Linked DNA regions of Homo sapiens: region 2 is linked to region 1. The links are contacts of gene promoters, found by promoter capture Hi-C in human tissues and cell types (Jung and others, 2019). All regions are on one chromosome and are shown on one strand. The core of a region is centred on a gene start or on the middle of the fragment in contact, and the rest is flanking DNA. Distances in the headings are between cores, read along the strand shown. Region 1 holds the start of RFPL2 (ret finger protein like 2). Region 2 holds the start of PISD (phosphatidylserine decarboxylase).

Region 1 (3,830 bases), core at 1,322-3,821:
GACCTACCAGGAGGAGGGCGCCCTCCAGATTCTGCAGGAGAAGCGGAGGAGACTCCTCCTTCCCCAGGCTGCGCCTCCACCGCTGCCCCAGAGGCCCACAGCTTCCTACCCACCCCAGGCCAGGCCCAGCCGGGCGGGTCAGCCCTGGAGCGCTCCTACCCGCCTTCCCAACCTCCAGACTTGCTGCTGCTGCCACCACTAGCACTGATGCCAATACAACCACTGTTCCTGTTGCCCTCAGTCCACTGGTCCACCCTACAAGGCTCCTACCACCTGGATACCACAGCAGGCCTGCCCTTGCCCAGGCAGCAGCCAGCCGCCCTCCTACTGCTCTGGCACTCTGCAGTCTCCATTGCTGCTCTCCTACCGCTCTGGTGCTCTGTAGTCTCCATCGCCACCACCAACCACAGCAAGGTGAGCTGCGGTGCCCCCAGCTCCAGCCTCCAGCATGGAATAAGTGGCTCCTCCTCCTGGCACGGAGCAACTGGGCAGGCAAAGTCAGATAAGCCTAGAACAGGATGCAGAGAGTGGTAGCATTAGAGTCTCACCTTGTCATGCTGGCCACTAGGTGGCAGGGGCCAGTTTTAGCAAAGGCACTCACACCTACCCTCCAAAGCCCAGCCTCCCTTTTTGGCCCAAGTTCACCAGGAACTGGGGCCTGGGGTGGGGACTGGAGACACCACAGTACAGCGTCCGGGCTTCCCACTCGGCACGAATCGCTGGGCCCACCCCTGGCTGCGCTCCTCAGGAAGCAGAAGCAGCAGAAACTCAACCCCAGCCAGCCCTCCCCACCCAAGTGCCGGTACCTCTTCCTGACACCTCCACCCACAGGGCCCTGTCACTCCATGATGTCCGCTACTGTGTGCCCAGGGGTCCCAGACGGTCTCAGCAACACATGGTGAGAGGGCGCGCGCCTGGGAACCACAGCAGGTCTAGGGGCCGGGCCGTGCTCAGGATCCCCGCAGAAATGCTGTGTGCTGGCCAGGAGCAGAAGGAGATGGCCCTCTAGAGACTGGAGTCCCTCTCACCTCCTCTGACCACCGCTGTCACTGACACCTCCGCTGCCCACCACCAGGGGGACGGTGCAGCCCCCGATAGCGCCCCCGACCCTCCCCCACAGCTGGCAGTGTAGCACCAGATGGCAACCCCAACCCGCCCCTGCCTCGGACACTGCAGCACCAATGGCACCCGCAACCCACCCCCTGCCTTGGGCAGCGCAGCCCGGGATAGCGCCCCCAACCCGCTCCCTGCCGTAGGCAGTGGCTGTAGACAGTGTAGCCATGGGTAGCGACCCCAACCAGACCCCTGCCGTGGGCAGTGATGCCCCGATATGGCACCCAAATCGCCCCCTACCCCGGGCAGTGCAACCCTGGATAGTGCCCCTACCTGCTCCCCACCAGGAGAAGCAGCCCAGGATAGCACCCTCAACCCACTTCCTGCCTCCAGGCAGTGCAGCCACAGATAGCACCCAAACTTACTCCCCACCTCGGGCAGTGCGGCCACAGACAGCTCACCTAAACCACCCCCTGCCAAGGGCAGTGTAGCCCCCTATAGTGCACCCAACCTGCCCCTGCTGCAGCCAGTGCAGCCCCAGATAGCACACCCACCCGCTCCCTGCTAGGCAGTACAGACCCCTGATAGCACCCAACCCACCCCTCCACCGCAGGCAGTGTACCCGGCCCTCAATAGCGCCCCCAACCAACGCCCCCACCCCCTCTCCATGGGCAGTCCAGCCCCGGTACCAATCCCAACAACCCCCCGCTACCTGTCTCAGTGTAGCCCCCAGAGAGCGCCCTCAACAACCCCCTCCCCACTGCCAGCAGTGTAGCACCCTATAGTGACCCTAACCCGTCCCCCACCACCAGCATTGCAGCCCCAAATAGTGCCCCCAACCCGCTCCCCACTGTGGGCAGTGCAGCCATGGATAGTGTCCCCAACCAGCTCCCAGATGCAGGCAATGATGCCCTGGATATCACGCCCGCCCCCGTCCCCCACAGGCAGAGTAGCACCGGATAGCAGCACCCACCCTCGCCACCAGCAGTGTTGCACCCACCAGCCCCCCACAACCTGTCCCCAACAAGGGCATCAGGGCATTGCAGCACCTGATAGTTCTACTAACTCACCCCCGCCCCCCGGCCGCGGGCAGTGCATCCCCAGATAGTGCCCCCAAAACTCCCCACTGCCGCAGGAATTACAGCTTCGGATAGCGCCCCAACCCATCTCCAGCCATAGGCTGGATAGCGCCCCCGGATAGCGCCCCCACCCCACTCCCCTCAGCGGGCAGTGACGCCCGAGGTACCACACTCAAGCAGCCCCCCAACACGGGCAGTGACGCCCTGGATAGGGCCCCCAACCCGCCCCCCACGCCACAGGCAGTACGGCCTGGGATAACGAACCTATTCTGCCACCTTTTCACCATTCTGGCTGCGCTGTAGTCACCCTCGCGGCCACCAACCGCAGCAGCGAGGTGAGCCACTGTAGGCTCCAGCCTCCAGCATGCGCGGTAGATGACTCTAGCCTCTGGCATGCGCGGCAAGTGGCTCCTCCTCCTTCTCCTCTAAGCCGGGCACAGAGCAGCTACGCAGGCCGACGCAGATGAGCCTGGAAGGGCAAGCCACCCCTCTTGGCATCCTTTATATACTGAGTTTAATGCAAATGAAGTTTCTCGACTACATAGTCTGATCGGATGAGAGAAACCTCTAGGCCTACTCTGATCGGGCTTTGTTATCTTGTTCTGATTGGTTATCCTAAGACTTGCTGTCATCCAGTCAGAACGTGAAAATAAAGCACAATCAGAGTAGACCTAGAGGTTTTTCTCTCATCCAATCTGAACATGTAGTCCAGAAACCTTACTTGCATAACCTCGGTCTGTGGGGGGAGGGGTTCTTGCCATTCCAGGCACTTCTGCGTCTGCCAGCCCATCTGCTCCATGCCCAGGTTAGAGGAGGAGTCACCTGTCCCACGCTGGAGGCTTGAAAGCCTGCAGCAGCATGGCTCGGCTCGCTGCCGTTGGTGGCGGTGAGGGAGACTAGACCGCAGCCAGAATGTAGAAAGGTGGCGGGGTGGATGAGCTATCCAGGGCTCACTGCCTGCGGCAGGGGGCGGGGAGGGGGACAGGTTGGATGCACGATCTGGAGCTGCACTGCCCGAGGTGGGAGCGGGGGCGGATTGAGGGCGCCATCGTGGGCTACAACCCGGTGGTGGGAGGCGTGTTAGGGGCAGTATTGGGTGCTGCACTGCCTACAGCACGGGAAGGTTGGGTGCTTTACCGGACGTCATTTCCCGCAGCCGCGGGGTGGCTTGCTGGGGGCGCTATCCGTGGCTGCACTGGTCGCGCTGGGGTACGGGTTGGGGGCGCTATCTGGGACATCAGTGCGCATGGCAGGGAACTTGTTGGCTGTGATATCCGAGGCGTCACTGCCCTTGGCTGGGGGCTGGTTGGGGGCTCTATCTATGGGCTACACTGCCTACAGCCAGGAGCGTGTTGGGGCGTTATCGGGGCGGACTGCCAGTGGCGGGGGTGGGGGTGCGGGTTGGGTGCTATCGGGGGGCTTCACTGCCTGGCAGGGAGTGGATTGGGTGCGCTATTTGGGGTTGGACTGCCGGCGGTGGTTGACTCGGTGGGAGGAGAGGGGCAGAGGGAATGGGTTGGATGCACTATCGGGAGCTACACTGCCCGAGGCGAGGGGGAGATGGGGGCGCCATCGTTGGCTACACCGCATGTAGTGGGGGGCGTGTAAGGAGCAGTAGTGCGTGTTGCATTGCTCATGGCGGGGGAGGGTTGGGTGCGTTATCCCGGGCGTCATTTCCCACAGCGGCGGGGGTCAGTG
Region 2 (3,968 bases), core at 468-2,967, 540 kb after region 1:
AGTCCGCCTCCCGGGTTCACGCCATCCTCCTGCCTCAGCCTCCAGAGTAGCTGGGACTACAGGCGCCCGCCACCACGCCCGGCTAATTTTTTTTGTATTTTTAGTAGAGATGGGGTTTCATCGTGTTAGCCAGGATGGTCTCAATCTCTTGACCTCGTGATCCGCCCACCTCGGCCTCCCAAAGTGCTGAGATTACAGGCGTGAGCCACCGCGCCCGGCCCAGGCTGGTCTCAACTCCTTGGCTCAAGCTATCCTCCCACCTCAGCCTCCCAGTGAGTGGGGATTGCAGGCGTGAGCCACTGCGCCCGGCCAAAACCAATTCTATACATTTGTTTTTTTCTTTTCCGACTTTTGAAAACCATGACAAAGGGAGGTTTCTTCCCCCCAATACCAAACCTGGTGCCTTTTAAGCTCTCTGTAGGAGCTGAGTATGCCCTAGTTGAACTTAAGCCAACTACACAGAAATACCTGCAGGGACCAGGGAGCATATTCCTCCTCCTGTCAAATGCCTGGTGAAGGCAACTGTGATTATCAGCTTAGCAGATGAAAAAGTAGGGCTGCATTCCTTCAGTTGTTGGACCCAAATTCTGCCAGATTCTGACAAAGGGCTTAAAAGGAAGAATGTTTAGGCCAGGTGCGGTGGCTCACGCTTGTAATCCCAGCATTTTGAGAAGCCGAGGCGGGCGGATCACGAGGTCAGGAGATCGAGACCATCCTGGCTAACATGGTGAAACCCCGTCTCTACGAAAAATATATATAAAAAAATTAGCCGGGCGTTGTGGCGGGCGCCTGTAGTCCCAGCTACTCGGGAGGCTGAGGCAGGAGAATGGCGTCAACCCGGGAGGCGGAGCTTGCAGTGAATCGAGATCGCGCCACTGCACTCCAGCCTGGGCGACAATGAGAGACTCTGTCTCAAAAAAAAAAAAAAAAGAAGAAGATGTTTAGGACATGGTTTTTGGAGTCAGAGACGTATGTTCAAATTCTGGCTTCACTATTTTATAGTCTTTGGGCATATGCCCTTTATGTACCCTTGAAGATGTTGCTTAACCTTCCTGAGCCTCAGGTACCTCATCTTTAAAATGGGGATAATGTCTCGGGCCTAGCTGCGAGTCTCTAGTCAGTGCTCAGTAAAAAGTAGCAGACATGATTGAAAACTCGTTTTCCTCTTACAATTGAAGATAGGAACCTTTTCAAGAGCAAGCACCAGGCACCGAATTTAACGACTGGTTGCATTTCTAGGTGATCCAAGACCGTTTGCCCCCGGTCTCCCTGGCAGCACAGCGGTAGGAGATAAGAATGATATGACACCATGCTTGCAAAGTGCTCACAACACACTCCGGCGCTTAAAAAACGAGAGCTGAGTCATGGATGCCCAGTTTCCCCATCCGTAAAATGAGCAAGTTCGATCACTTGAAACGACATTCTTGGATCTTGGATGACTCAGATTTTCCAGGTACATGAGGAAAGGCACCCAGAGGGAAGGAGGAGGAGTGGCAGTGCTGCGACCAAGCCCAGGTTTAGCGAAACCTACAGCTCCACTAGTTCCCCTACCTCCGCAGGTGCCAAGCGGGTTAGGTGGGGAGTAGCCACAGGGCGGAGCTTAGTCGGCTCCGCCCCCAACCCGCGCTTTTCTCATTGGCCCACTGAACTCGAGACTCGTGACGCCTTAAGCGTGCGCCCAGCGTGTGAAGGGGGCGTGGCACGCTGAGAAGGAGCAGACAAGATGGCGACGTCCGTGGGGCACCGATGTCTGGGATTACTGCACGGGGTCGCGCCGTGGCGGAGCAGGTATAGCAGCGCGGAGAGACTACCTTGGGGCGTGGGGCAACCTGGACCAAGCTGGGGTCTGAAGAGAGATGTTTCTGTGTCGCGGGCTCGCTCTGAGGCGAGCTCGGGTGGAGACGGAGCCACCTTCACCTCGAGCTTAGGAGCAGGTGCGACTGCTCCTGCGTAGGGCGGTCCGGATTTACTTAGGGTGTGGCCTAGAAGCTCGCGCTTTGCCCTTTCCAGCTAGGTGGAAGTTCACGAGGGACAAAAATCAGATGAAATAGGCTACCTGCCCGTCTCTTGAGTCGAGGCAGGGCTTTCAGATGTTCAGATGCCATTTTCTCGTGTGTTCGTTTTCGTAGAAGGAATGATGTCCTGTGGGAAGGACACTAGATTGAGTGTCAGGCAACTTTCATTTCTGGATCTTAGTCTTTGAAGCTAGAGGGTTAGGTTAGGTAATCTCAAAACAATATGTTATGGGGCTAGAGTCTTGGTTACCCTTGTGACCCCCAGCTGTTAGATTCTTAGAAATGTGGGAGACTTGAGGGGTCTTCTGAGTCCAGCTGTCTCTCTTTGGAGTTAATGAGATTGAGGCTCCGAGAGAGGGAGGGATTTGCTCAAGTTCACCTAGCCAGTTTGTAGCAGAGCCCGGACCCCCATCAAGGTACCCCCTCACGCGACGATCTTTCTCTCAGGCTGCCCGCCGTGAGGGCAGTGGTTATACAGAAAATAGCTTAGAGCATTTGGAGTGTCGGAAAATGGATTAAAATGTAGCTGTGATTCAGAGTCGGCTGCCTGGTGTCATTTCAAAGAGCTAAGATTTGAGAGATGCGCCATACTTGTGTGTTTCCTACAGGGTTCATTTTGTCAGCGTTGATCAGAGGATAACCTATTGTTTTGGGAGGAGACGGACACTGGATTTGGACTGAGAGGGAACAGAAACCATCATTGGTCTTGTTATGAAAGCGTCACTCTTTCATCATTAACTGTACAGAAATGATTATCTCTCAGGAGAGGGCTCTGCATTGTGGTGGTAACTGTTAGAATTTGGGCAGGAGACTTTGTTTTCAATGTTATTACCAGGCGTGCTGTGTATGAGTCAACCCTGAATTCATTTAAAGTGTGTCACAGGCTGGGCGCGGTGGCTCACGCCTGTAACCTCAGCACTTTGGTAGGCCAAGGTGGGTGGATCACTTGAGGTCAGGAGTTCGAGACCAGCCTGGCCAATGTGGTGAAACCCTGTCTCTACTAAAAAATACAAAAATTAGCCGGGCATGGTGGCAGGCACCTGTAATCCCAGCTACTTGGGAGGCTGAGGCAGGAGAATTGCTTGAACCTGGGAGGCGGAGGTTGCAATAAGCCAAGACTGCGCCGCTGGAGTCCAGCCTGGGCGACAGAGTGAGACTCTGTCTCAAAAAAATTAAAAATAAATAAAGTGTGTCACGAATTGAAAGGACTAAAATGAGACTCTTAAAAAATTGTTTTTTGTTGTTGTTATTTGTTTTGGAAGTCAGAGCCTCACTCTGTTGCCCAAGAGGGAGTGCAGTGGTGTGATGATGGCTCACTGCAGCCTCCACCTCCTGGTCTCAAGCAGTTCTTCCACCTCAGCCTCCTGAGTAGCTAGGACCACAGGTGCACGCCACCCCGCCCAGCTGCATTTTTTTTGGGGGTGGGGGTGGAGACAGGGTTTCACCATGTTGCCCAGGCTGGTGTTGAACTCCTGGGCTCAAGTGATCCACCCACTTTCACCTCTCTAAGTGCTGGCATTACAGAAGTGAGCCATCGCAGTCCACCTAAAATAATTTTTTTAAATGATGAGAGGAGGCTGTACCTCAGTCACCATCATTAAAAGGGAAAGAAAAAAAGCTATGTTTTAGTACCAGTGTAGATAGATAAGGCTAGACTTAGATGCAGTGGGTGAGAGAGATGAAGATTTGGGTACAATAAGAAACCTTAATTTTCAAAGGTATTCTATATCAAGATAGAAATGATATTAATACACAAACCAAAAAGATAACATTTCTGTGGGTTTTTAGTAAACCAGTGCCTATTTGTGAGACATGTAAATGAAAACCTTATATTTCAGGTAAGTTTTTCAATAACTGGGTGATGTGTGACAGGTGATAGATAACATCTTGGGTGATAATTTAGGGCCATGTTTCCTAAACTCATTTGATAAAAGAATGGGCTGAATGGGCTGG

Evidence for each region. The method cuts DNA at HindIII sites, captures the fragments that hold promoters and counts their contacts. A contact is called where the count stands out against the background at its distance.
Region 2: the fragment with the promoter of PISD here is called in contact with the fragment with the promoter of RFPL2 in region 1 in 4 of the 25 tissues and cell types used here (heart left ventricle, liver, mesendoderm cells and 1 more).

Annotation. Positions count from the first base shown.
Region 1 is chr22:32,203,814-32,207,643 of GRCh38, reverse strand. RFPL2 (ret finger protein like 2) reads left to right here and starts at 2,571. Exons shown (of 5, transcript NM_001394555.1): 1 at 2,571-2,937. SLC5A4-AS1 (SLC5A4 antisense RNA 1) reads right to left here and starts at 2,529. Exons shown (of 4, transcript NR_149072.1): 1 at 2,397-2,529; 2 at 368-508. RefSeq lists an enhancer at 397-1,127. The HindIII fragment of the contact is 14,140 bases long and covers 1-3,830 here.
Region 2 is chr22:31,659,964-31,663,931 of GRCh38, reverse strand. It overlaps PISD (phosphatidylserine decarboxylase), which reads left to right and starts at 1,717. Exons shown (of 8, transcript NM_001326411.2): 1 at 1,717-1,788. The coding sequence starts at 1,724. RefSeq lists enhancers at 1,677-1,976, 2,217-2,266, 1,484-2,683, 2,657-2,796, 2,092-2,985 and 1 more. The HindIII fragment of the contact is 10,896 bases long and covers 1-3,968 here.